Regions from separate parts of the Homo sapiens genome. Here all the other regions are linked to region 6. The links are contacts of gene promoters, found by promoter capture Hi-C in blood cells and fetal thymus (Javierre and others, 2016). All regions are on one chromosome and are shown on one strand. The core of a region is centred on a gene start or on the middle of the fragment in contact, and the rest is flanking DNA. Distances in the headings are between cores, read along the strand shown.

Region 1 (3,581 bases), core at 837-3,336, 730 kb before region 6:
AGGATCGCTTGAGCTCAGGAGGTCTAGGCAGCAGTGAGCTGTGATTGCACCACTGCACTCCAGCCTGGGTGACTGAGGCATGCAATGCACATCCTATCGCAATTTTGTTATAAGCTCGCATGTGCTTATAACAAAGCACATGTTATAAGCTTCATGTTCCTTGTGGTTCTGTCAGCAAAATAACTTCATCATGCCCCCTCTCTGGAAGTCCAAGCTTTGTACACAGGATACCTCTGGGCTTGTCCCTTACCTGCTATTTAAGTGCTAACTTTTAAAAAAGTGGTTGAACTATTAACATTTGCTTCTTTCCTGCATTATCATTTCATATTGACATTGATATTACAAATGAGTACTTTGTTTTCAGAAGGGCTTGATCAATATTTTCTGTTACCCAAGTGTCATATCTCAGCCACTGAAAAGTTTTTAAAGTGGTTTATTACTTGTAGTATTTTGTTCCTTGAGGAGGTTGTGTGGATAATATTACTTGAGCTTCATTTTGGGTGATTTATATTCACCAGTTTGTCTCCTCCTGGGTGAACACTGTCTAATTCCACGAAGTCGTCAAGCCAGTTTAGGCCACTTTCCTTAGAGCTTCAAATACTTTAGCCGTTTACTCTGAGCTGCCTGCTGTGAACCTTGTTTCTTGTTTGTCATCTCTGTGAGGATGGATGCCACGTCGACCATTCTCATCATTCTTGTGTATACTTCCCTGAGGTGAGAAAGAAAAAACAACCCTGTGAATCTCTGGATTAAAAGTCAACGGGTGAAAACCCATGTGCGAGGCTGGGTGCGGTGGCTCACGCCTGTAATCCCAGCACTTTGGGAGGCCGAGGTGGGCGGATCCCAAGGTCAGGAGTTCGAGACCAGCCTGGCCAACATGGTGAAACCCCGTCTCTACTAAAAATACAAAAATTAGCTGGGCTTGGTGGCGCGTGCCTGTAATCCCAGCTACTCAGGAGGCTGAGGCAGGAGAATCGCTTGAACCTGGGAGGTGGAGGCGAGATCGCGCCGCTGCACTCCAGCCTGGGCGACAAGCGAGAGACTCTGTCTCAAAAAAAACAAACAAACAAAAAAGAAAGCCCATGTGCATGTGGGCATGAGCTCTCCCTTCTTACAGTAAATCCACTCTTAGAAAAAAGAAATGTGTTCCTCTCATTCAAAAGTTGAGGCTGAATGCAGTCGTTCATGCCTATAACCCCAGCCCTTTGGAAGGCCGAGGTGGGAGGATTGCTTGAGCCCAGGAGTTTGAGACCAGCCTGGGCAACATAGTGAAACTCCATCTCTACAAAAAATAAACAAAATTAGCTGGGCATGGTTGCCTGCAGCTACTCAGGAGGCTGAGGTGGGAGGATTGCTTGAGCCCAGGAAGTTGAGGCTGCAGGTGAATCGAGATGGCACCACTACACTCCAGCCTGGGCAACAGAGCGAGACCCTGTAACAAAACAAAGCAAAAAAATTGCCTGGAGAGCTGAACTTTAGGGTCTCACAATAAACATATTCCTATTGTAGAGTTTTAAAATAATTTTAAGGCAAGTAATAATGTATGAACACCATGTCCTTAACTTTTTATTCAGCACTGTAAATACGTTTTATGATCCAAAATGGTTGAATAGTTTCAGTTTTCAAAATTGAACATGCCCTTAACAACACATTCTATTGTGTCTCAGTGTTCTGGTGTCTATGATTGGGCCTTTTCTATATTTGTAAACAATCATTCAGTACAAACGCAGCATCTTAACGCATGACAAGGAAGAACAGATGAGGGTTTTCACCTCGAGATGACTTTCAGAGTAGCCTTATACTTTTGCCTTGACATGAAAATAGTACTAGCCATGAACATAGGTCTCAGGTGGCCAAAATCCACAGCTAGAAGGTTAGACTTGAGAAGACCCACAGAGAGAGGCTTCGCTGATGTGGCCGGGATGGCTTAGGTTCTGCAGGCTGCTTACGGCAGATTTCCATTTCTGCTCTTGAGCTATGAATCCAGTTGGATGAGCTGGTTCAGACTTTTAGTATTTCAGCAGAGAAGAAGCATTCAGGGTTTTATTTATTGTAATGATTTGATGGTGGAAAACAGCTTTGACTTAAGCAACTTAACATTGCTCTTTTTCTTTGAGTAGTGGTTTAATGTTTATTCTGTGGTTAGCTATTAACCTTATTCTGTGGTTAGCTATTTAAGCAGAAGTCATAATGTACCCAGAGGTTCATTTTAAGTTTTATTCAATGTGCCCAGAAGATGAAAAACTACATGTTTTGATGATAGGTTTGATATGCTCACACAATTCTTAATTGGTTTTATATTGGAAGATACATGTTCAGATTTGTCCTTTTATAACTTTACATTTGGCTTTTTATGCCACGTCCCGTGTTCTTTCCTTGAGGACTGGCTTGTAGAGTTGATTCTCTAATTTGTGATATGGGCATATTAAATTCCTTGATTGAGAAAGCCCTTAGCCAGCCTGGGTTGGTGCTATGCCTGGTTCTTCCTGGGGCCCGTACCACCTCCTACCCAATCTTAACAGGTTTCATCATCCCAAACAAGACAAGACAAAGCCATGTGGCCTCAGGGATACTGTAGAAATGAAAGAATAGGGCTATGACCACCAACGGGATGAAAGATCTTAGCAGTGGAGACTGGGGAAAAGAAACACCAGCTTGGCGAAGTGGCAGGTTTTGGCTAAAGATGTGGCTAGATTTGGCAGGGGAACAAGTGCCTGAGGATCTCTTCTCTTTGGGGCTTTCAAGGTTTCAGGAAATCAGATTGCCATATCACATAGCCAATCTTATTTCCCAAGACTCTTTTTTGGCCCCTGTCCTAAATGTCCTGTAAACACACATGTCTGATTCCTATGTCACTTCTGATGCAGATTGTGAAATCAAGTCTTTACTATTAACAGCTTTTTATTGCTTGCTGTCTTCTTTGTGTTTTAGCTCTTCTTCTCTGCTGAAATGTGAGCTTTTTGAAGTAGGAGGGAGATTTTGAGTTTCTTTTTTATCTTATAAAATATCGAGTTCAGTGATGGACATATATAAACTAGACATTAATTATAAGTTGATTATTAAAATAATCACATCCTTCTTTGTGGGCTAAGCCGTTGACACGGTAGTCTAATTTCAGCTATCATGCCACTGAGTTCTTATGTGATGCCATTAAAAATGCCCACATTAAAAAAATGACTATAATCTGAATTGTATAAAGAAGGTAATGTGATACCCTACCTCGTTTTAACCTGATTGTCTCTCTTAGCTGAGAGAGCCGGACAGACTCCATTTTTGTTTCTTCACTTGCAGCTCCCCTCCCTTAAAGGCATAAGTAGTGCAAGCTGACTCCGAGCACATCCAGGAATGCGCTTACTGATGAGATATCGAGGCAAGCTAAATCAGCAGTTCCTGAGGACGCGCTTGGGGGATGGCACCCAAAGCCCCTGCATTATCTCTTTGTGATAGTTTGAGCCCCTGCACCTGGAACTGTTTACTTTTCTGTAACTGTTTCTGTAACCAATTAATCTTTCTTAATTGGTTTGCCTGTTCTGCTTCTGTAAAAATTGCTTCAGCTAAACTCCCTCTCCCCTATTTAGACC
Region 2 (3,517 bases), core at 714-3,213, 650 kb before region 6:
TGGAAAATGTATAATGACACGTATCCGTTCTTATGATATTATCCAGAGTATTTTCACAGCCTTAAAAATCCTCTGTGTTCTGCCTGTGCATCCCTCACCTCCAATTTCTGGCAGCCAATTATCTTTTTACTATCTCCATAGTTTCGCCTTGTACAGAATGTCATATAGTTGGGGTCATACAGTATGTAGCCTTTTCAGATTGGCTTCTTTCACTTAGTAATATACATTTAAGGTTCCTCTGTGTCTTTTCATGGCTTGATAGCTCATAGCTTTTTAGCACTAAATAATATTTTGTTGTCTAGAGGTACCACAGTTATTTATCCATTCGTCAACCAAGAGGACATCTTGGTTGCTTCCAAGTTTTGGCAATTACGAATAAAGCTGTTATAAACATCTGTGCACAGGTTTTTGCGTGAATGTAACTTTTCAACTCTTACGTGGTAGGATGTTTCCTTTTCCTAATTTTGATATGAGGGTATATGATGTGAGGACTGGTTAATTAAAAAGTTAAGTGAGAGGGTATCTGCCTTACATTCGCTTAGGTATTATTACATGCGTGTGGGAAAAAGAGGAGGAAAGACAGCTTGAAAGTGACTGTGTTTCAACTGTGCTGAGCCAATTCTACAGAGTTCAGTAATAGGACACTGGTTCCAGAGAAAAACAGGCTGTTTCTGTTACGGGATTGGTGAGGGGGAGCCAAATCTCTCACCCACAAATAAACCTCTGGAGGGTTTTCTGCTGAGTTTAACCTCCTCCCACTCCCAGCCTTGAAATAGATTCATTAATGGTAGGTGCTGAAATTATTGCACTAAAAGTTACCTTTGACTTGAGAGCCACATGGCTCTGCAGTCTTGGATGGCAAAAACGAAGGAGAGAACTTGTGAATTCCTACCGTTATGGTGGAGTGATCAAGATTATGAATTAGATGCCTGCTGGAATTCTCCTCTTACCCTTGTCCTCACAGCTCTCTTTTTCCCCTTCTACCTTCAAATATCACTACTTATAGCCTTTCCTTTATGTTTAAGTTTGTTTCTGATTCTTCAGGTTCTTATTTCTACATCTATGAGCATATTGACTTCAGGGACTGGATCTTATTAACTGTTTTATCCTCGTTATCTGGCACATAGCGTGTTCTCAGTAAGTACTTTTCGTACTGAGACAAAGGAGACAAAATTTTACAGAGAAGTCAAAAAGACTCCAACTAGTTTTCACATTAAACTTACTTCCAACTTGTGAAGACTGTTGAATTAAACAGAAGAAATTAAAGACAAAATTCAGCTTCCATTTGGGAGGGTATATCTAAAATGCAAAGATTGGCCAGAACCAGGGAAGATGACTTGCAACAGGAAGAACTTTTATTGAAACACCACCATAGAGAAAAAGCCAAAGAAATGGTACTATTCTAAAAATAACTTGTCTTAATTCATTGGAAGAAAAGCAGAAAAATAAGGGGACCCTTATTTAGGAAACTAGCTTCATTTTGGTATTTTAATTTGGGGGCCATTCTGTCTCAGAGGCTGGAGTTCAGGAAGACACCCTCTGTTCATTCTTGTTGTTGACTTTGGTGGATTTCTCTTCCACAGTGTGAACTCTGGATGAGAGAACTTTGCCACGAGGATCTATCTCTTCAACAACTGTTTTGACAATGGTGGTTTTAGATGAATCTAAAATGCCACATATAAACTGTTTAGAATTTATCAAATTCATAAATAGGAAATAAAACATCATTTGAAACACATACAAATAAACACTGAATGCCTAACACAGCTTTTGTTTACCTTTTGTTTGATTTCCTGGGCCTCCATAGCCTTTTGATTTAGAACAGGAGCTGTAAAAGTATAGAGCGCTTATATTAATTATTCTGTTTTACTGAGGAAACTGAAAAATAATGATTTAAGGTGGGAATTCACTGCATTCTGAAATAACACTAAAAGAGTATTATCTATGCGTGATCTAGATCATAGATATTTTGTACTTGATTTCAAATCATCTTTAGTAACCTTAAAAATGAATTGTTTTCTCAATGGCGGCAATACTGACCCATCTTCTCCATCTATCAGGAGGCAGTAGGTCTCAATTTCTTTTTCCAGGTGGACCTTGATGTCAAGGAGCTGCTCATACTCGAGCTTCTGGCCCTCGGTCTCGGTTCTGACCTGGTGCAGCTGCTCCTCCAGGGCCCCGATCTGAGCCTGGATCTGTGCCAGCTGTGCACAGTAGTTACTCTCGGTCTCTGTCAAGGAGCACTCCAGGGAGTGTTTCTGTAGTTTGGTAAGACATGGTTTAATAGAAAAGGTCACGGTGTTTTAGAATAAGCCAAAGCATTTAAGAGATAATTAAGAGAATTATCCTTACATCATGCAAATAATTATATTTACCCAAAAGATTCCACTTCTTCAATATTAATTGTTGCCTTTATTAAATGTCCTACTACTTTTCTATTTGAGAATGACACAGCTGGTGCTGAATGTCCCTCAGATGCCCAGGTGTGCTAAAAAAGATGAAATTGTCTCTTCATAGGGCACAGACTGAAAGATCCCTCCCCTGCACCAATATAGCCTGTGCTTGTAGAGTGTGGCACAATTTGCTACTTTACCCACAACTAGAAGTCCGCCTATACTTTGCTACTCATTTCTAGCCATGTGACAGTCTTGTCTTATGAGGATTGTAGCTCTTCTATTAAAAAGTCATCCTGCAGTAAACCGCATAAACGTTCCATGAGTAGAATAAACCACAGAAAATAATTACCTTCTTAGACTTTAAATACAGTAGTTCAATTCATTGGCTTGTGAATCTGAATGGGTTTACAGATATACTCAGAGGGAACACTCACTGCAATTTTACATGGAATGAAGATGAGAGTGTCTTATCCTTTCACCTGCAAGTATTTTTTATATAAAGTCTTGATTTTATATACATTCATAGCCTCATCTGTGGATAAACTCTGGTGGTTTACTAGCCATAGTGGGAAAAGTATAGACTTGGGAGTTAGAAAATTTGGAGAGAACTTCTGGATTCCTTCATACCCAACTGTGGGACTGTGGGAATTGCTTAACTTCTTCGAATCTCAGAGTCCTCTTTTGGAAATAATGACATGAGTTATAACGTCTGCCCTGCCCATGCCCCGGGGTTGTTGTGGACTCACATGTGGGCGGAAGTGCTGGGCAAACCCTTAATGAAAGCAGTTATGATTATCATTACACATGTTTAGTTTTATAGTCAGCCTTCATGCCTCGACTTTTCCTCTGTCTATGCCACTTACAAAGGAACTTGTAAGTGCTCTTAATTGAGTGGCCAAAAGGAATGCTAGATGAAGCTAGGAGTGGTGCAAATGTATTTTTGCTCTCTTTAAGCAGTAGGATTTTTTTTCTTTTTTTTTAAATGGACACATAAGAATTGTATATATTTATGGGGTTCCATAATTATATTTCAAAACACACAATGTGTAGTGATAGAATCAGGGCAGTTAGCATATCCATGGTCCCAAACATTTATCTTTTTTGTGTGTGTTGGGAACATT
Region 3 (3,188 bases), core at 265-2,764, 630 kb before region 6:
GAAATTAGGTATGCACTGAAAGAAGGATAAAGCCTGCTTGTGGGAGGTGGAGAGAATCTTGAAACCCACAGTGATTAACATGGACAACAGATGGGAATGGCTGCAGGAACATTTCCAGTCATCTAATGCAGAGGAGAACACTGTGATGAACAGGATTTGGAAGAGATGACTCTCTTCCAAAAAAACAAGAGATGGACATGCTTTTCTGCAGTGGGAATGAAAAAGAAAAGGCTTGGAAGTATGGAAGGCTAATGGGCAGCCCACATTTGTAGCTTAAAAGAGGTAAAAACTGGATTTTCAAATGGCTTTACTTACTTTCCATCTCCATCTATCAGGCGGCAGTAGGTCTCAATTTCTTTTTCCAAGTGGACCTTGACATCGAGGAGATGCTCATACTCCAGCTTCTGGCCCTCGGTCTCGGTTCTGACCTGGTGCAGCTGCTCCTCCAGGGCCCCGATCTGAGCCTGGATCTGCGCCAGCTGCGTACAGTAGTTGCTCTCGGTCTCTGTCAAGGAGCACTCCAGGGAGTGTTTCTGAGGACATCAAAGAAGCCGTGGCAAGGGATGAAAACACTCTGAGGACTAGTAGAACATTGTTTCTCAGTAATCAGCAGGATTGCTCCCTGGGCAATTGTGGAAATTTGTGAGGCTTGTCACAATCAAATGGGAAAGAAAGGAGGCTGGCATTTATGAAGTGAGGGCCAGGCATGATGGACGTGGGATCCTGACCCGGGATAAATGGCCCTTTTCCCACAAGACTTTTGATGTTCCACTGGACATTGATGATATATAGGTCATATTTCTATTAAAACCAACTGATATATTAAAGCACCTTTTAAGGGTAGCAGAATAAAAAATCGATATGGGAAAACTTGTATTTTGAAATTATATATTTATTTCAGGGTTACCTGTTGTTTCCATCTTACTCTGCTACTGTCCCCGCAGATCCACTCCGCTAGTGTTCCATGGCCTTTTGTGCTACTGCTTTTTTTTTCTCTAATCCATCCTTGATTTTCTAGCCTCTATCAAAGGTCTTTTATTAAGGTACCTGAGATTGAATGAGTGCCTTAACAGATGTGAGATTTCAAGGCAAGAGCTATATCTCATAACACAATACAGGTCATTATTTCGACACTACTCTTATGAATATCATACTTCCTCTTTGCTACTTCTACAGTCTGTAATTTGTCTTGGCACCTGCTGCCTCCTTTAATTAAGGTAATTTTCCTCTTTCCCTTATTATAGATAAATATGTCTGGGCAATTATTACTTCTGTTGATATTAGTTATTATCCAAGTGTCCACCCCAACTTCCACTCTTTCATTTTCCTTTTCTTGTGTGGAGGAACTTCTGATCTTACATGGTTGAAAATGAAAGATTTATTAAGAGAAGATGCAAGGCTCTGCCTCTTTCATTACATTTTCTAGGGTAGTTAGGCCCAAGTATTTACCTAGTAAATACATTTTATCTTAAAATACTTGCCTTTTTATTGCATTTATGGTATTATACTTTAAAAAATAATTTTGTATATTTCTAAATCTATTACCTAGTGACTTCATTCTAGCATTGCAAAGAAGGAATTACACAATATTTGTCTTAACGGGCAGACATTGGGTCTAATGGGGCTGAGAACCTAACACTGACTTAGAGCTACTGACTTAGGCAAACAGACGTGTTACATGGAGGGTGCTGGGCTCTCCAGGAGCAGGTAAGTGGAAGGAGATCAGGATGGTAATGCGGAGAGTAAGGCAACAGGTAGCAAGACGCCAGTGAGGCGTGTGCTCGGCAGCTCAAAACTTTAATTTCCCTGGTAATGCGTCCTCCTAGGGTATTCCTTTTTATGATTGCTAATACACTCATAAGTCAGAGAGGACAGCGTCTCTACTTCACAGTCTTCCACCGTGAAGGCTGGCTTGTCAAAGAGGGAGGAGAACAGGATGAACTTGAAAGTTTGTACATCACAGGAAGCAAACGTGAACATTTGTGTATTTAGACAACTCCCAACTTACAAATGACTTGTGTTCTAACTCTAGGAGATTGAGCTTAGAATTCATAAGACAACAGGGCCTCAGGGATGTAAGTTAGGTACTATGCTCCCATTATTCTAGAATTCAGTTATGTCCTGTGTTAAGTGGGCTTTTTATGTGTGGATTATCCTATGAGCCCAAATTATAGTACCACTGGCTGCACAGACTCTAACTACTTTATAACATCCTTGTTTCTATGTGAAAATGCTCACAATTCTGGTCTGGGGACTCGAAAATGTATTTCCATCAGCGTAGCTCAGAAATAGAGGGAGGATTCACTCACACAGCTCCTGCAGCAGGAACAGAGTCCTCAGGGATCTAGTTCAGGGAAGAAGGGAAATGGAGAAGAAAGGAAGGTTCCAGGAGCCCACAGTGGCAGGGGTGTCTCGGGTACCTGCTAGCAGCAGTGATGAGGGAGAGGAGAAGAGGGCCATCCTGGTTAAGTTAGGGGCCAGTCAGTGTAAAAACAAGTCTCCCATCTAAATCCGATATAGGGAGAAAGCACACACCTTTAGAGGGCGGCTAAATCAAAAGAATCTCCCGTTGTTTTGAGTCATCTTTTCCTTTTTGGCTCACTGCACTCACTTGGGTAACAGCTGCTCTCTTCTTTGTGTTACAACCTGGTGTCCTCAGGAGGCACGAAACCTCTTATGGGGAAGGGAGTCCTTAGGCCATGTGCATGCCGTAATTCTCAAAGTCAAGCCTTTTGGGCACTGCCAGCTCACACTCTAGAAGGGAAGCCATTTTTAATCCTGGGTTGACGCCATGCTGACCTTTGAAGTAAGCCAGGAGCTGGTGGTATGCCCAAGTGGCTGAAGGCCTGGCTCCCAGGTGTGCCCTCCGGGATTTGACCTCTGCCCTGGACTCTGTGGCGATGAAGAGCCTGACAGTGCCCATGTGGCATTCAGGTGTGTACCCTCTCTTCCTCTGCCTGGTGAAACCACATGTGGCTTCTAATATGTCTTCATCAGTATCAGGAGATGCTGGTGTGATGCTGGCTCCCTGCCCTGTGGGACACTAGCCCCACACCCCTGATCATAGACCTGTGGCTAATTTTCTGGTGCAGCAATATTGCTGCTGTTTGTTTTGCGGACCTAAGCTGAATTACCCTGAGAAAGGATCTATGTGAAATGTCTATTTTCATGAAATGAGCACTAAGCAT
Region 4 (3,374 bases), core at 361-2,860, 580 kb before region 6:
AATTAATACAACTTGACTTTAAAATTAACTGTAGCAGGAAAAGCACTTTGTTGTCTCTAGGCCTCTTTTCCTCACCTTCTGGAGGGAAGGGACAGTATCTTGGCTCTGATTGTCCTATCTTTTGTACAGTTCACTGAATATATATCATATGCCATATATTTTACTGGGGTTCTGAGGATGCAAGGATAAGTAAGATGTGGTCTTTACCTTCAAGGAAGTCATATCTTTTGGGTCAAAGGGTAGGAGACAAGGCACAAATAATTACAAAATAGGATGAAGAGTTTGGAAATACAGATTTATCTAAAGTATATGAAGCACCAGTAAAAAGAAACCAGTTTCTGGAGGACTTAATGAGATGTCTTTTGAATGATGTCTTAAAGAATGACTTAGAATTCATTGTATGGGAAAAAAAAAATCTAGGCTGAGGGACCAGCAAGTATAAAGGAGACATAAACACACACGACGTATTTCAAGAACTGAGAAAAGTTTGGTTTAGCTGGGACATAAAGTTTATGTGAGTGAGTGCCAACAAATAAGTCTGGAAAATAGGTTTGTGCTACATAAGAAAAGACCTGTAATGCCATTTTAAGGAATTTGGACTTGATCCCTTAGTCATGGAGTGGACCGTTGAAAGCTGCTAAATAGGGGAGGAACATGACCTTAATTTTTTGAAAGATAACTTTGTTGACAGTGTACTAGATGGATTGGGGGGAAACTGGACAAAGGGAGATGAGATGGGAGAATTTGCAAGAGTCTGGGGAGGGGAAGAAACAATGAAAATTTCACAAAAGTGTCAGTGCAGTGATAAGAATGGGAAGATAGTCATAGATAAGGTGGCATTTGACTTGGCTGTTTGCCCGTTGATGATGGAGGGCATCTAAGATGACAAGACGTTTCTAGTTTTGAACTTCGGGGAATGCTATTGACTGATATGTGAATGCAAAGGGGGAGCAGTTTTTGTAGGAAAGATAACAAATTTAGGGAAAGGAAGATTGAGCCTGAGGTACCTATCAACATTCAGATGTAGATATTCCATAGGCAGCTGCAGTGTGGGTCTGAGATTAGGAGAGAAATTGTGATTTGGAAGTTACTGGCAAAGAGAAACCATGAACTACATGAGATTTCTCAGGGAGAATGAGTAGAGATGAGGACCATGGATAAAACCTTGAGGAGCTGCAATATTTAATGAGAATATAAAAGGCTTGAGAGATAACATTGAAAGATAAAAGGGAGAACCAGGGGACAGAAGTTTCAAGAGAGCCAGTGGAGAGGAGAATTTTGAGAAGATGGGATGGCCAACAGTGTTAAAGATGTCAAGTATGACTAGAACTGCAACATTACTTTACAATCTAGCTGTTTGTTCTGAAAAGATCCTAGAAGTACTGTTGTCTTTTGAGAACAGGGAATGAATTCTCTCAAAGCTACCAATTACAGTTAATACACATTCTCAGTCTTTATAGTTTAAGCATCATTTAATATGACCAATTTTGCAAATTAAAGGATCACTGAAATTGAAATAATTTAGGAAAGAGCTGAAGGCCAGAAATTACCTATATTGAGGTGGTAGTTGAAGCCTTTAGAATAACTGGATTTTATAAAGGGGAGAGCAGAAGTTTAAGGCTGAATGGTGAGGAAACCCTCAGTTAGGCTTGGCACAGAGGAAAAGTACCCAGTGAAGGAAGTGAATAAGGAGTGATCTGGAAGTCTGGAAAAAAATTCAGGCAACCAAGGATGGATTGTAGCATATTATGATTCACCTGGTAGAGTTTCCAGAAGGAGGTTCTTCCGGGTCTTGAGTTTCAAATTCTGCATAGAGACCAGGAAGAATGAGGACTAGAAATTAATGTGCATGATAGTGCCACAAGATCCTTGGAGATCTGGGTGCAAGAATATACTGGACAATGTAGGGGCACAGAAGCCAGACTGTCTGCCATTAGGGAAGGAAAGGGTGGTGATGGAATGAAGCCATCTGTGTCTTGCACTGCTGCAGCACACACAGTGAGTATAAAAGAAAAAAGAATGGTGTGGAGCTAAGCAAGGGTGGAATGAAGACAAGATGGTTGGGTGCAGAACATACTGGGAAACAGAAGCAAGTAGAATTTTATAGCTCTTTAGAGGTATTTCAGAAATGTTTCCTCTGGGAAATAAAGAAAAAGAGGGCCAGGCGCGGTGGCTCATGCCTGTAATTCCAACACTTTGGGAGGCCGAGGTGGGCGGATCACTTGGGGTTGGGAGTTCAAGACCAGCCTGGCCAACATGGAGAAACCCTGTCTCTTGTAAAAATACAAAATTAGCTGGGCGTGGTGGCACATGCCTGTAATCCCAGCTACTTGGGAGGCTGAGGCAGGAGAATCGCTTGAACCCGGGAGGTGGAGGTTGCAGTGAGCCAAGATCATGCCATTGCACTCCAGCCTGGGCAACAAGAACAAAACTCCATCTCAAAAAAAAAAAAAAAAAAAAAAAAGAGAGAGAAAGAGAACACTCAGGGAGCCAATAAGCCAGATAGCACAGGTAGGTACCTGGAAGGAGAGAGAAATCAGAAATAAGAGTGGTTCAAGACACAGTTCAAGAGCTCACATCAGTAATATAGGAAACCATCTGTTGAATGAGCCATTTAAACTGTATCATAGGGAACTTAGCATAAAGAACAGGCATGTGGTATAATTAAAAATGACTGAAAAAATTCTGCATTTTAGAAGCATCATTGTGGCGAATGTGCAGGAAAGTGAGTGCTCAGGAAGTTGGCCTTAGACAGCTGGAAAGATATGTCCTTCATTGCCAGTAAACTGGCATTCTAATGTGCACATCAGCATTGTGTGAATACAGTCACTGTAAGTCTATCATCAAGTGTCAGGTTACCTCTGGGCATGGTGAAGTCTAGTTTCTGGACCTGCAGGGCTATGAGGAACAGATTCTGGACTGTGGTAAGTTTTTTGAAGTAATTCAAATTTATATTAAATTTGTATTTTAAAAAACCCTTTTGATAATCAATCTAGTCTTGTGGGCAGCTTTTCATTTGCTTCATGATATATTCCTGTACCCTCCATGAGTGGTGTTAGGAAAAATGGCAGTAAGTATTACTTTTAACAGTTAGTTGGTAGAATAATTTACTCACCGTATTCACTAAAAAGCTGATGATTACAAATAGAAAAATAGTTTTAGGAAATGTGGAGCTTAGAGAGAACAAACACAAGTCATTCTTGCTGCCACTCTCCTGTACTCATGTCAGACATTACTAATTGATAACACATCTTCCTGCTGAACCCAGACTGGCTGGAGAATTATTCTTAATAAAATTAATCCAGGAAGCCCACAACCAATTGCCTGAATTGAGCCATGTGAATAAAAACTCTGCCCTTTCTTTCTTTGTTTTT
Region 5 (3,183 bases), core at 594-3,093, 660 kb before region 6:
AATTTCCTCCTGTTATTGATTTCTAATTTCATACTATTGTGGATAAAAAATACTTGATATAATTTTAATCTGAAGTTTGTTAAGACTTGTTTGTGACCTAACATATAATCTATCATGGAGACTGTTCTGTGTGTGCTTGAGAAGAATGTGTATTCTGCTCTTGTTTGATATAATGTTCTATATACATCTGTTAGGTCCACTTGGTCTAAAGTGTAGTTTAAGTCTAATCTTTCCTTACTAATTTTCTGTCTGGATGATTGATCCATTGTTGAAACTGTTGTACTGAAGTCCCCTACTATTGTTGCATTGTTGTCTATTGCTCCCTTCATACCTGTTAATGTTTGCTTTATATATTTAGGTGCTCTGATGTTGGGTGCATATATATTTACAATTGTTATATCCTCTTGATGAATTGTCTTCTTTATCATTACATAATGACTTTCTTTCTTTTTATAGTTTTTGACTTAAAGTCTACTTTTCTCTGATATAAATATAGCTACCTTTGCTCTTTTTTGTTTCTATTTGCATGGAATATCTTTTTCCATCCCTTCACTTTTAGTCTATGTGTGTCCTTAAAGCTGAAGTGAGTCTCTTGTAGACAGCATACAGATTTTGTGTATGTGTGTGTGTGTGTTTGCCTTTTTAGTACCCTTAGCTATTCTGTGTCATTTGATTGGAGAATGTAATCCATTTATATTCAAGGTAATTATTGATAGGTAAGGACTTACTACTGCCATTTTGTTGTTTTCCAGTTGTTTCGTAGATCCTTTGTTTCTTTTTTCCTTTCTTGCTGTCTGCCTTTGTGATTTGACAACTTTCTCTAGTGGCATGCTTTGATTCCTTTCTCTTTCTCTTTTGTGTATCTACTATAGAATTTTGCTTTGTGGTTATCATGAGACTTACACTGAACATGTTAGAACAGGTTATTTTAGGCTGATAACTTCAACTGCATTCAAAAACTTTACAGTTTTACTACCCCTCCATCTATTTTTTTGATGTCACAATTTATATCTCTTTATATTGTGTATTCCTTAACAAATTATTGTACTTATAATTAGTTTTAATAGTTTGGTCTTTTAACCTTTATACCAGATATAAGTGATGTGTACACCACCATTACAGTAGTATATTCTGAATTTGTATATTTACCTTTAACAGTGAGTTTTTTTAACTTTCATATGTTTTCATGTTGCTAATTAGAGTTCCTTTGTTTCAACTAATTGACCTATCTTTATCATTTCTTGTAAGGGAGGCAATGAACTCCCTCAGCTTTTGTTTGGGGATATCTCCTTAATTTATGAAGCCCAGACTTTTCTGGGTATGATATTCTTGGTTGGCAGGTTTTTTTCTTTCAGCACTTTGAATATATTATCCTACTGTCCTGACTTGCAAGGTTTCTGTTGAGAAGTCTGTTGATAGCCTCATGGGGGTTCCCTTGTATGTAATCAGTCTCTTATCTTTTGCTGCTTTCAAGATTCTCTCTGTCTTTTGGCAATTTTTAAAAAATTTTACTTTAAGTTCTGGGATACATGTGCAGAATGTGCAGGTTTGTTACATAGGTATATATGTGCCATGGTGGTTTGCTGCACCTATCAACCTGCCATCTAGGTTTTAAGCCCCACATGCATTAATGTGCCTCAGAGTGTTTGTCTTTGGGTTGATCTTGCTTGGGATCCTTTGAATTTCGTGAATCTGTATGTCCATATCCCTCTCAAGATTTGGGATGTATTTCTTTACATAAGCTTTCTTTCCTTTTCTCTCTTTCCTCCTTCTGAAATCCTCATAATGTATATATTTGTATGCTTGGTGGGATAGACTAGATCCTGTATGCCTTCTTTACTCTTTTTTATTATTTAAACATTTTTGTTCCTCTAATTCAGTAATTTAAAATGCCCTTTCTTTGAGTTTGCTAATTCTTTCTTCTGCATGATAGAGTCTGCTGTTGAAGCTTTCTATTGAATTTTTCAGTTTTGTCATTGTATTCTTCAGGTCTAGGATTTCTGGTTTTATTTTTATGGTTTCTATTTTAAAAATTAAGCTTCTCATCTTGTTTATGCATTGTTTTCCTAATTTCATTTAGTTATTTATCTATGTCTTTTTGCATCTTATTGAGCTTCTTTAAGATGATTATTTTGAATTTTCTTTCAGGCAATTTGTAGATCTCCCTTTCTTTGGGGTCAGTTACTGGAGCCTTATTAGTTTCCTTTGGTGGTGTCATGCTTGCCTTATTCTTCATTATTCATGTAGTCTTGCATTGGTATCTGTGCATTTGAAGGCACAAATACCTCCTTCATTTTTTTTTTTTGAGACAGGATCTTACTCTGTCACCCAGGCTGGAGTGCAGTGGCGTGATCTCAGCTCACTGCAATCTCTGGCTCCCAGGCTCAAGTGATCCTTCCACCTCAGCCTCCTGAGTAACTGGAATGACAGGCATATGCCACCATACTCAGCTAATTTTTATATGTTTTGTGGAGATGGGGTTTTGCCATATTGCCCAGGCTGGTCTTGAACTCCTGAGCTCAAGCCATCCACCCGCCTCAGCCTCCCAAAGTGCTGGGATTACAGGTGAAAGCCACCACACCTGGCCCTCTTTAAATCTTTATAGACTGCTTTTGGCAGTTTAAGGCCTTCTTCTATTAGGTTCCTGTGGTGATGGGATTGTGGTCAAATGAGGTTGGAGCTGGATCACATGGCTATTGCTGAGTCCACAGTGGGGTCTATAGTTGATAGGTCTGTTACCAGGGGCTGTAGTAGCTGTGGATTCTGTGTAGTCTCTGGGTTGACTGGACTGTCTGTAGAACCTTGGTCCATAGAGCTGGCACTGGGATGAGAGTCCATTTCAAGATCTGTAGATGATGGGCCATTACCAGGTGTGTGAGTGGGTGTGGCTTCTTCTGTGTCTCTGGAAAGTCTCCCAGTGGATCACTAAGTGAGACCCTGGGTATGTAGTGCTGCTCAAGTCCATGGCTGAGACAAGTTAGAACTGAGTTTTGGGGCTGCTTTAGAGCCTGTAACTGAGACTGAGCTCTTCAGACCTGTCTTTGGGGTCACAGAAGGGTATGTTTTCTGGTGGGTCCCCGGGCAGGCAGGCTTGCTCTCAGACCACAGTTGATAGAGGCTGGTGCTGAATTACAGGGCCATTTCAAGATCCACAGCAGGACCAAGATCAGTGGGTCAGGCTAT
Region 6 (3,669 bases), core at 458-2,957:
TGCGTCCCGCACTTGTCCGCCTCCACCAGCTGGTGAAGGGAGCGCTCACTCTCCAGCCTTCCGTCACAGGAGGCACAGGGTCAAAAAGAATGCCCCAATAGCCCCTCTCAGCTGCCCTGGCTTCCTACCTCCCACACCACCTTGGATCCTTATTTGTTCACGTGGGCAGTATACACTATTCTCAACCCTGCAGCGACACGGTTTGTAGTCAGGACATTATGCCCATTGACCAGATGGAAGACTGAGGCTCAGAAACAAAACACGAGTTGTTCAGAATTCCATGCCCAGTTAATAGTAAATGCATGGACTCATCCTAAGTGTTCTGACTTCAAATGCAGCATTTATTCTGCCATAATAGGAGTCATTTGGCCAGGAAAAAGAATGGCTAAAAATAAGCCTCTGGACCTTCAGTTTGCTGCTTTTCCTCTTGGATTCATTATTTCTCGTTGTTTTCTTGCTTTTCCCCTTCATTCAAGCACAACTCTAGCTACCAAGGAGCTTCAATGACAATTCCTCCAGCTGATGGATTTGGCCAAGAGTCAGAGAGTCTAGCAACAACCTATGCATTGACAGTTTATTTTTGTGATGACTCAATTTTACTTCTGATTGAAAAGCAAAATCCTCTTATCTTCTAGATATGGGAGAAAGTGACATAGGTTCTAACCAATCTAGACTACAGCCCTTCTTTTTCTTTCAATGCTTATATTCTCTTTCCTCCTATATAATGACCATTTCTAGCAACAGGCTAATTTAAGGTGTGGAGAGAAATATTCTTCTAGTCAAAAACTGTTTTTGAACACCTACAATATAGACTGAGTAATGGGGCGGGCCCTTGGAAATACAGCAGGAGAGAAGTCACACTGACCCTCCTCATCCTGACTTACTTGATCCTAAAGTCATCAGCAGCCAGCTTCGCGTTGTCAATTTGTACAATCAGCCTGGCATTCTCAGCCTTGCTGCACAGGATCTGAGGAAAACGGAAAGACGGTTCACACACAAAGCACCATACTCTAAGCTCCCACTCCATGTGTGGTATTTACGCTCATGTCCAAGAGAAACCAAGAACCCAAAGCTCTCTGGACCTTATGCAGATTCCTCCTGCGAAGGCTTCTGCCTTCTCAGACCCAGCATGCCCAGGCGATCCCACACCTCACCTTCTGCTGGAGCTCCTCGATTGTACGGAAGTAGGACTGGTAGTCGGGGCACACGGTGGACTCGTGGCACTTGCTCCTCTCGAGGAGTGTGGTCTCCAGCTCTGCATTCTCCTGCTCCAGCTGGCGCACCTTCTCCAGGTAGTTGGCCAGGCGGTCATTCAGGAACTTCATGGTCTCCTTCTCATGGCCATTCAGGGTGTTTTTGCCGTAGGCCCCACAGATTCCGATGTTGCCGGGAATGTGACAGGTCCCTGGCAAGGGACAAGCAGTGTGACTGGTTGGGGGCAGACAGAGGCTGGGGCGGCCCAGGGGAGTCGACCCCACACGGACTCTGTTGGCGTGTGCCACGTTGGCCAAGAGGCACATGGAGGCAGCATTGGCCTCTGCCACAGGCTGGCACCCAACATCGATAGGAGAGACAAAGACATTTCTTGCTCCAGGAGCCATGGTGCAACCCAGAGGGCATGAGGAGGTGCTGTAGAAGGAGGTCATGGTGTAGGGCTGAGGCTGCACAGGAGCTTCAGATCAGCTGGGAAGGCTGAGCCACTGAGACTGAAGCCTCCTCTCCTCCCAACCCTTTTATACCCCATCCTGGGCGGGTGTTGGCTCCAGTGCTTTGACCTCCTGCCTTGATTATCTACCTGTTGTGGTGCCATCATCCTGTTACTCAGCTGCTGAGTTTACCATGAGAAGTTCCTCAGCTCATTAAAGCAATGTTGACAAATCTGAGATGCCTCTTGGCTCTTCCATATCAGGTTAGCTGTTGGTGGGAAGTCAGAGACTCACTGTTTCTGCTCAACAAACACCAGCAGTTGATTCAGGCCCCAATTGCTCTCTCTGGACTATGGTCTCTGTGGATGTGGTCACAATGAAGGCTCAAATCTTTCCGTCAGTAATTTGTGTAGCAGGAGACACAGAGAACCAATGGGACCCACTGGATCTTTCGCCTGTGCAAGACTGAATCAGCCTTTCCTTTGAAGAGAAAATATCAGTTAATAAAACCAATGCATCTACTGATATTTGACGATTGAGAGGCGCCTTTTTTTCTTTCTTCTTTCACATTGCATACTCCCTTGAGAAGCAATAACATCTGGAAGCAATGGCGCTAATTAAGTTTTGGTTGACTAGTCAGAATCAGCTATTCATTCATTTGTTCATTCATTCATTGGTTCAGCATGCTTCCTGAATATCCCCCATAACTCAGGCAGTGTGCTGGTTCCTGGACACGCAATGTTCCCTGTTCATCAGGAGTAAACAATGCCTCTGAAATCTCTGGATGTTCTACACAAACTTGAATGAGAACCATAGATCAACAAGAGTTAGTGAAAGACAGAGGATCTATAGTTCTGGCCAAGGAAGTATCTAGAAAGAAATCACTAACAAAGAAAAATCTTATTTGATCCAGGAAAGGGAGATTGGGCACAGAGCTCAAGCAGTATTCAAATGAAAGGTCCAGAACTAACATTGATTGAGTACTTAGGTGTGCTAGGCATTCTACTGTGTTCTTTCCTATCTAACCCTTACCACCTATGAGGTGGTTACTCATTGCCTCAATGTACAGATGAGAAAACTAGAGTGAAGTACATTTGCACATTTTCTGATTGACAGTTAGTGAACTGGCAAAGGCTCGATTCAGTCTCATGTCTGCTAGGCCCATTCTCTTTTCACTTCATCATGGCCCCCGGTGAGAACAACGGTGTCATTGCCCCGTCAGTGCTGGGCCTAAGGAGAGGGCAAGAAGGGGCTTAGTTACTGGATGAGAAATTGTGGTGAAAAGAAAATTACTGAAGGTCTTTGTGTTCCAGCAAAGGAAAAGATTTAAATACTATGGCAGTGACAACAAGAAAATGCACTTTAAAAAGTTAAACTAGGCCGGGCGCGGTGGCTCACGCCTGTAATCCCTGTACTTTGGGAGGCCAAGGCAGGCGGATCACCTGAGGTCAGGAGTTCGAGACCAGCATGAACAACATGGAGAAAACCGGTCTCTACTAAAAATATAAAATTAGCCGGGCATGGTGGTACATGCCTGTAATCCCAGCTACTCAGGAGGCTGAGGAGGAGAATTGCTTGAACCCGGGAGGCGGAGGTTTCCGTGAGCCAAGATTGCGCCATTGCACTCCAGCCTGAGCAACAAGATTGACACTTTGTCTCAAAAAAGAAAAAAAAAGTTACGCTAGTTTGTAACATATGCATCATTTAAGACAGGGTGCGTCCTGAGAAATGCGTCGTTAAGAGATTTCTTCACTGTGGAAACATTATAGGGGGAACTCACACAAACCTAGATGGTAGAGCCTACTACACACCTAGACTGTATAGCACAGCCTATAGCACCTGGCTACAAACCTGTACAGCATGTTGCTGTACTGAGTATCATAGGCAACTATTATTAACACGATAATATTTGTGTATCTAAACATAGAAAAGGTAATGCATTGCACTACGACATTATAACCACTTCCACATCACTAGAGAATAGGAATTTTCAGCATCATTATAATCTTGTGGGACCACCGCC
Region 7 (3,679 bases), core at 813-3,312, 610 kb before region 6:
TTTTTTGGTGTATAGTTCAATTAATTTTGACAAACAAATTCAGTTGTACAATGGCCACCATAAACAAAACAGAGAATATGAGAATACTTCCATCATTCCAAAAAATCCTCTTGTACCTCTTTGTGGTAAACACACTCCCTTTACCCTCTGACAATCTCTGATCTGTTTTTAGCTCTCTAGTTTGACTTTTCCTTGAATTTCATATCAATGAGCTATAACATATAGCCTTCTGAGTCTAGCATCTTTCACTTAGCATAATGCTTTTGAATTTCAAGATGTAATGTGGTCTGTTTCTTTTGTAGCATTTCATATATGGGTGTACCATATTTTTTTCCATTCACTAGTTTATGGGCATTTGGGCTATTTTCAGATTTCATGATTATGAATAAAGCTGCTCTAAATTTTCCTCATAGGTCTTTATGTAGATATTTTTATTTCAGTTGGATAAATGTCTATGAGTGAGATTGCTAGATTGTATGTTAAGTCTATGTTTAACACGATGACAAACTGCCAAACTATAATTTTGCATTCCCACTAGCAATATATGAGGGTTCCAGTTGCTCAGAATCCCTACTTGCACTTGGTATTGTCCATCAAAAAATTTTTTTTGAGTCATTCTAATAGTTGTATAGTGGTATGTTTAGAATTTGTATTTCCCTAATGTCTAATGATGTCAAGCATCTTCTTTGTGTGCTTATTTGCCATTTGTATCTCTTCTTTGATAAAGTATCAGTTCAAATCTTTTGTCCATTTTTTAATTGGTTTGTGGTTTTTTTCTTGTTATTGAGTTGTAGTTTTTTATATTTATATTCTATATGCCAGTCCTTTATAAGATTTGTATTTTTGTGACTATTTTCTCCCAGTCTTTGGCTTTTTAAAATTATTTTGACGGTGACTTTCAATAGATGACACAAACAAATGGAAAAACATCATATGCTCATGGATTGGGTGAATAATGATATTGGGTCAATATTGTTAAAATGACCATACTGCCCAAAACGAACTACAGGTTCAATGCTATTCCTATCAAATCACCAATGTAATTTTTCACAGAACTAGAAGAAACTATTCTAACATTCATATGGGACCGATGAAGATCATGAATAGCCAAAGTAATCCTAAGTGAAAAGAACACAATGAAATACAAATGGGCTATATAATGATCAAAATACATGAGCAGATGTTTCACCAAAGAGGAGATACGGATGGCAAATAGCCACATGAAAAGCTGTTCAGGCCAGACACAGTGGCTCACGCCTGTAATCCCAACACTTTGGGAGGCTGAAGTGGGTGGATCACCTGAGGTCAGGAGTTTGAGACCAGCCTGGCTGACATGGTGAGACCTCATCTCTACTAAAAATACAAAAATTAGCTGGGCATGGTGGCGCATGCCTGTAATCCCAGCTACTCAGGAGGCTGAGGTAGGAAAATCACTTGAACTTGGGAGGCAGAGGTTGCGGTGAGCTGAGATTGCTCCACTGCACTCCAGCCTGGGCGCCAGAGAAAGTCTCTGTCTCAAAACAAGAAAAAAGAGAGAGAAAAAAAAGAAAATAAAAAGAAAAGCTATTCAGCATATTTTCCATTAGGGAAATGCAAATTAAACTTCAGTGAGCTATAAGTACATACCTATTAGAAAAATACTGATAATGCCAAATACTGATGAGGATGCAGAAAAATTTGCTCTCCCATTTATTGCTGGTGGCAATATAAAATGGTACAGCTTCTCTGGACAACAGTTTGGCGGTTTCTTACAAAACTGAACATGCACCTACCATATGACCTAGCAATTATATGCTTGGACATATAACCCAGAGAAATGAAAATGTATGTTCACACCAAAACGTGTACACAAATGTTCAGTCTCAAAAGGTTACATACTGTGTGATTACACTTATATAGCATTCTCTAAATGGTAAAACTATAGAGATGGAGATTAGTAGTTGCCAGGGGCCAGGAACTGGGAAGGGAGTGTTGAGGTACACATGTGAATACAAAAAGGTAGCATGAAGGAGTTCTTTTGTGGTTATGAAATGGTTCTGTATCTTGATTTGGGTGGTGGTACAAAAATTGTACCTATACATGGGGTACAATTGCACAGACACACAATTTTTTTTTGGTTTGTGGTTTTTTCTTGTTATTGAGTTATAGTTTTTTATATTTATATTCTATATGCCAGTCCTTTATAAGATTTGTATTTTGTGAATACACATGCAGGTTAGGAAAAACAAAAACTGAGTAAGCTCTGTAGTTAAACAGTGATGTACCAATGCCAATTTTTAAATTTTAGATATTATACCCTAGCCTATAGAAGATGTCTCTATTTGGGGAAGGTGAGTCAGGAGTACACTGGACTCTACTATTTTTGCAATTTCCAACGAGTCTATAATTATTTCAAAATTTAAAAAATGTGATTACACATTTTTTTCTGCTTTTTTTTTACTACTTATATGGATGTTTAAGACACTCATTTGGATTATTTCTAGTATGTTTGTTATGGGTTTAATAGTTTATCATTTACTGAATAAACCTTACTTTCTTAGGGTTTAGATTCTTCCTTTATCATACACTAATGTCCATTTATATATAATCATTTCCTACACTCTTAGTTCCAGTGATGAATTAAATTGTGCTTCAGTTTCTTCATCTGTAAAATGGAGATAATAATAGTATATATGTCATAGAGTTCATTCCTTCAAAAACGATATTTTTGGTACCTAACCTGTGTTAGTCACTGTTCTAGTGCCTCAGGATACATGAATGGATAAAGTAGACGAAGATCAAGCGTTGTCTTTCTGGAGTGTACCGTCTAGCAGGGGAAAAGGATGACTAATAATGAATACATTGTATAGTAAGTTGGAAACAGTGCTGTGAAAAAAAGAAAAAGTGGAAAACCTAGGCAATACCATTCAGGACACAGGCATGGGCAAAGACTTCATGACTGAAAAACCAAAAGCAATGGCAACAAAAGCCAAAATTGACAAATGGGATCTAATTAAACTAAAGAGCTTCTGCACAGCAAAAGAAACTATCATCATGGTGAACAGGCAACCTACAGAAAGGGAGAAAATTTTTGCAATCTACCCATCTGACAAAGGGCTAATATCCAGAATCTACAAAGAACTTAAACAAATTTACAAGAAAAAAACAACCCCATCAAAAAGTGGACAAAGGAAATGAACAGACTTCTCAAAAGAAGACGTTTATGCAGCCAACAGACATATGAAAAAATGCTCAACATCACTGGTCATCAGAGAAATGCAAATCAAAACCACAATGAGATACCATCTCACACCAGTTAGAATGGCGGTCATTAAAAAGTCAGGAAACAACAAATGCTGGAGAGGATGTGGAGAAATAGGAACGCTTTTACACTGTTGGTGGGAGTGTAAATTAGTTCAACCATTGTGGAAGACAGTGTGGCAATTCCTCAAGGATCTAGAACTAGAAATACCATTTGACCCAGCGATCCCTTTACTGGGTATACATCCAAAGGATTATAAATGATGCTACTATAAAGACATATGCACACGTATGTTTATTGTGGCACTATTCACAATAGCAAAGTCTTGGAACCAACCTAAATGTCCAGCAATGATAGACTGGATTAAGAAACTGTGGCACATATACACCAGGGAATACTATGCAGCCATAAAAAAGGATGAGTTCATGTCCTTTTCAG

Evidence for each region. Contacts are between HindIII fragments. The CHiCAGO score rates a contact against its expected background, and 5 or more counts as called.
Region 1: a fragment that was not itself captured here is called in contact with the fragment with the promoter of KRT37 in region 6 in 3 of 17 cell types (erythroblasts, M1 macrophages and M2 macrophages); the score reaches 5.7 in erythroblasts.
Region 2: a fragment that was not itself captured here is called in contact with the fragment with the promoter of KRT37 in region 6 in 3 of 17 cell types (M2 macrophages, monocytes and M1 macrophages); the score reaches 6.9 in M2 macrophages.
Region 3: a fragment that was not itself captured here is called in contact with the fragment with the promoter of KRT37 in region 6 in 1 of 17 cell types (M2 macrophages); the score reaches 6.6 in M2 macrophages.
Region 4: a contact is called between a fragment that was not itself captured here and the fragment with the promoter of KRT37 in region 6, in 2 of 17 cell types (neutrophils and monocytes). The highest score is 5.9, in neutrophils.
Region 5: a fragment that was not itself captured here is called in contact with the fragment with the promoter of KRT37 in region 6 in 2 of 17 cell types (erythroblasts and M0 macrophages); the score reaches 6.7 in erythroblasts.
Region 7: a contact is called between a fragment that was not itself captured here and the fragment with the promoter of KRT37 in region 6, in 2 of 17 cell types (M2 macrophages and M1 macrophages). The highest score is 6.4, in M2 macrophages.

The regions. Positions count from the first base shown.
Region 1 is chr17:40,694,165-40,697,745 of GRCh38, forward strand. It overlaps LOC105371775 (a long non-coding RNA gene), which reads left to right. Exons shown (of 4, transcript XR_934751.2): 4 at 3,292-3,581. Among named protein-coding and RNA genes, the nearest start is that of KRT24, 7.8 kb to the right of the region's middle. The HindIII fragment of the contact is 3,749 bases long and covers 213-3,581 here.
Region 2 is chr17:40,775,475-40,778,991 of GRCh38, forward strand. It overlaps KRT27 (keratin 27), which reads right to left. Exons shown (of 8, transcript NM_181537.4): 6 at 2,041-2,258; 7 at 1,779-1,828; 8 at 1,334-1,664. The coding sequence ends at 1,525. Among named protein-coding and RNA genes, the nearest start is that of KRT26, 5.0 kb to the left of the region's middle. The HindIII fragment of the contact is 6,200 bases long and covers 1-3,517 here.
Region 3 is chr17:40,793,514-40,796,701 of GRCh38, forward strand. It overlaps KRT28 (keratin 28), which reads right to left. Exons shown (of 8, transcript NM_181535.3): 6 at 316-533. Among named protein-coding and RNA genes, the nearest start is that of KRT28, 4.9 kb to the right of the region's middle. The HindIII fragment of the contact is 6,389 bases long and covers 1-3,188 here.
Region 4 is chr17:40,844,126-40,847,499 of GRCh38, forward strand. No RefSeq gene overlaps it. Among named protein-coding and RNA genes, the nearest start is that of KRT12, 21 kb to the right of the region's middle. The HindIII fragment of the contact is 5,334 bases long and covers 1-3,374 here.
Region 5 is chr17:40,758,869-40,762,051 of GRCh38, forward strand. No RefSeq gene overlaps it. Among named protein-coding and RNA genes, the nearest start is that of KRT25, 5.1 kb to the left of the region's middle. The HindIII fragment of the contact is 206 bases long and covers 1,741-1,946 here.
Region 6 is chr17:41,422,878-41,426,546 of GRCh38, forward strand. KRT37 (keratin 37) reads right to left here and starts at 1,708. Exons shown (of 7, transcript NM_003770.5): 1 at 1,155-1,708; 2 at 885-967; 3 at 1-57. The coding sequence starts at 1,646. The HindIII fragment of the contact is 11,234 bases long and covers 1-3,669 here.
Region 7 is chr17:40,811,208-40,814,886 of GRCh38, forward strand. It overlaps LOC105371776 (a long non-coding RNA gene), which reads left to right. Exons shown (of 4, transcript XR_934753.2): 4 at 2,741-2,921. Among named protein-coding and RNA genes, the nearest start is that of KRT10-AS1, 6.1 kb to the right of the region's middle. The HindIII fragment of the contact is 4,415 bases long and covers 1-3,679 here.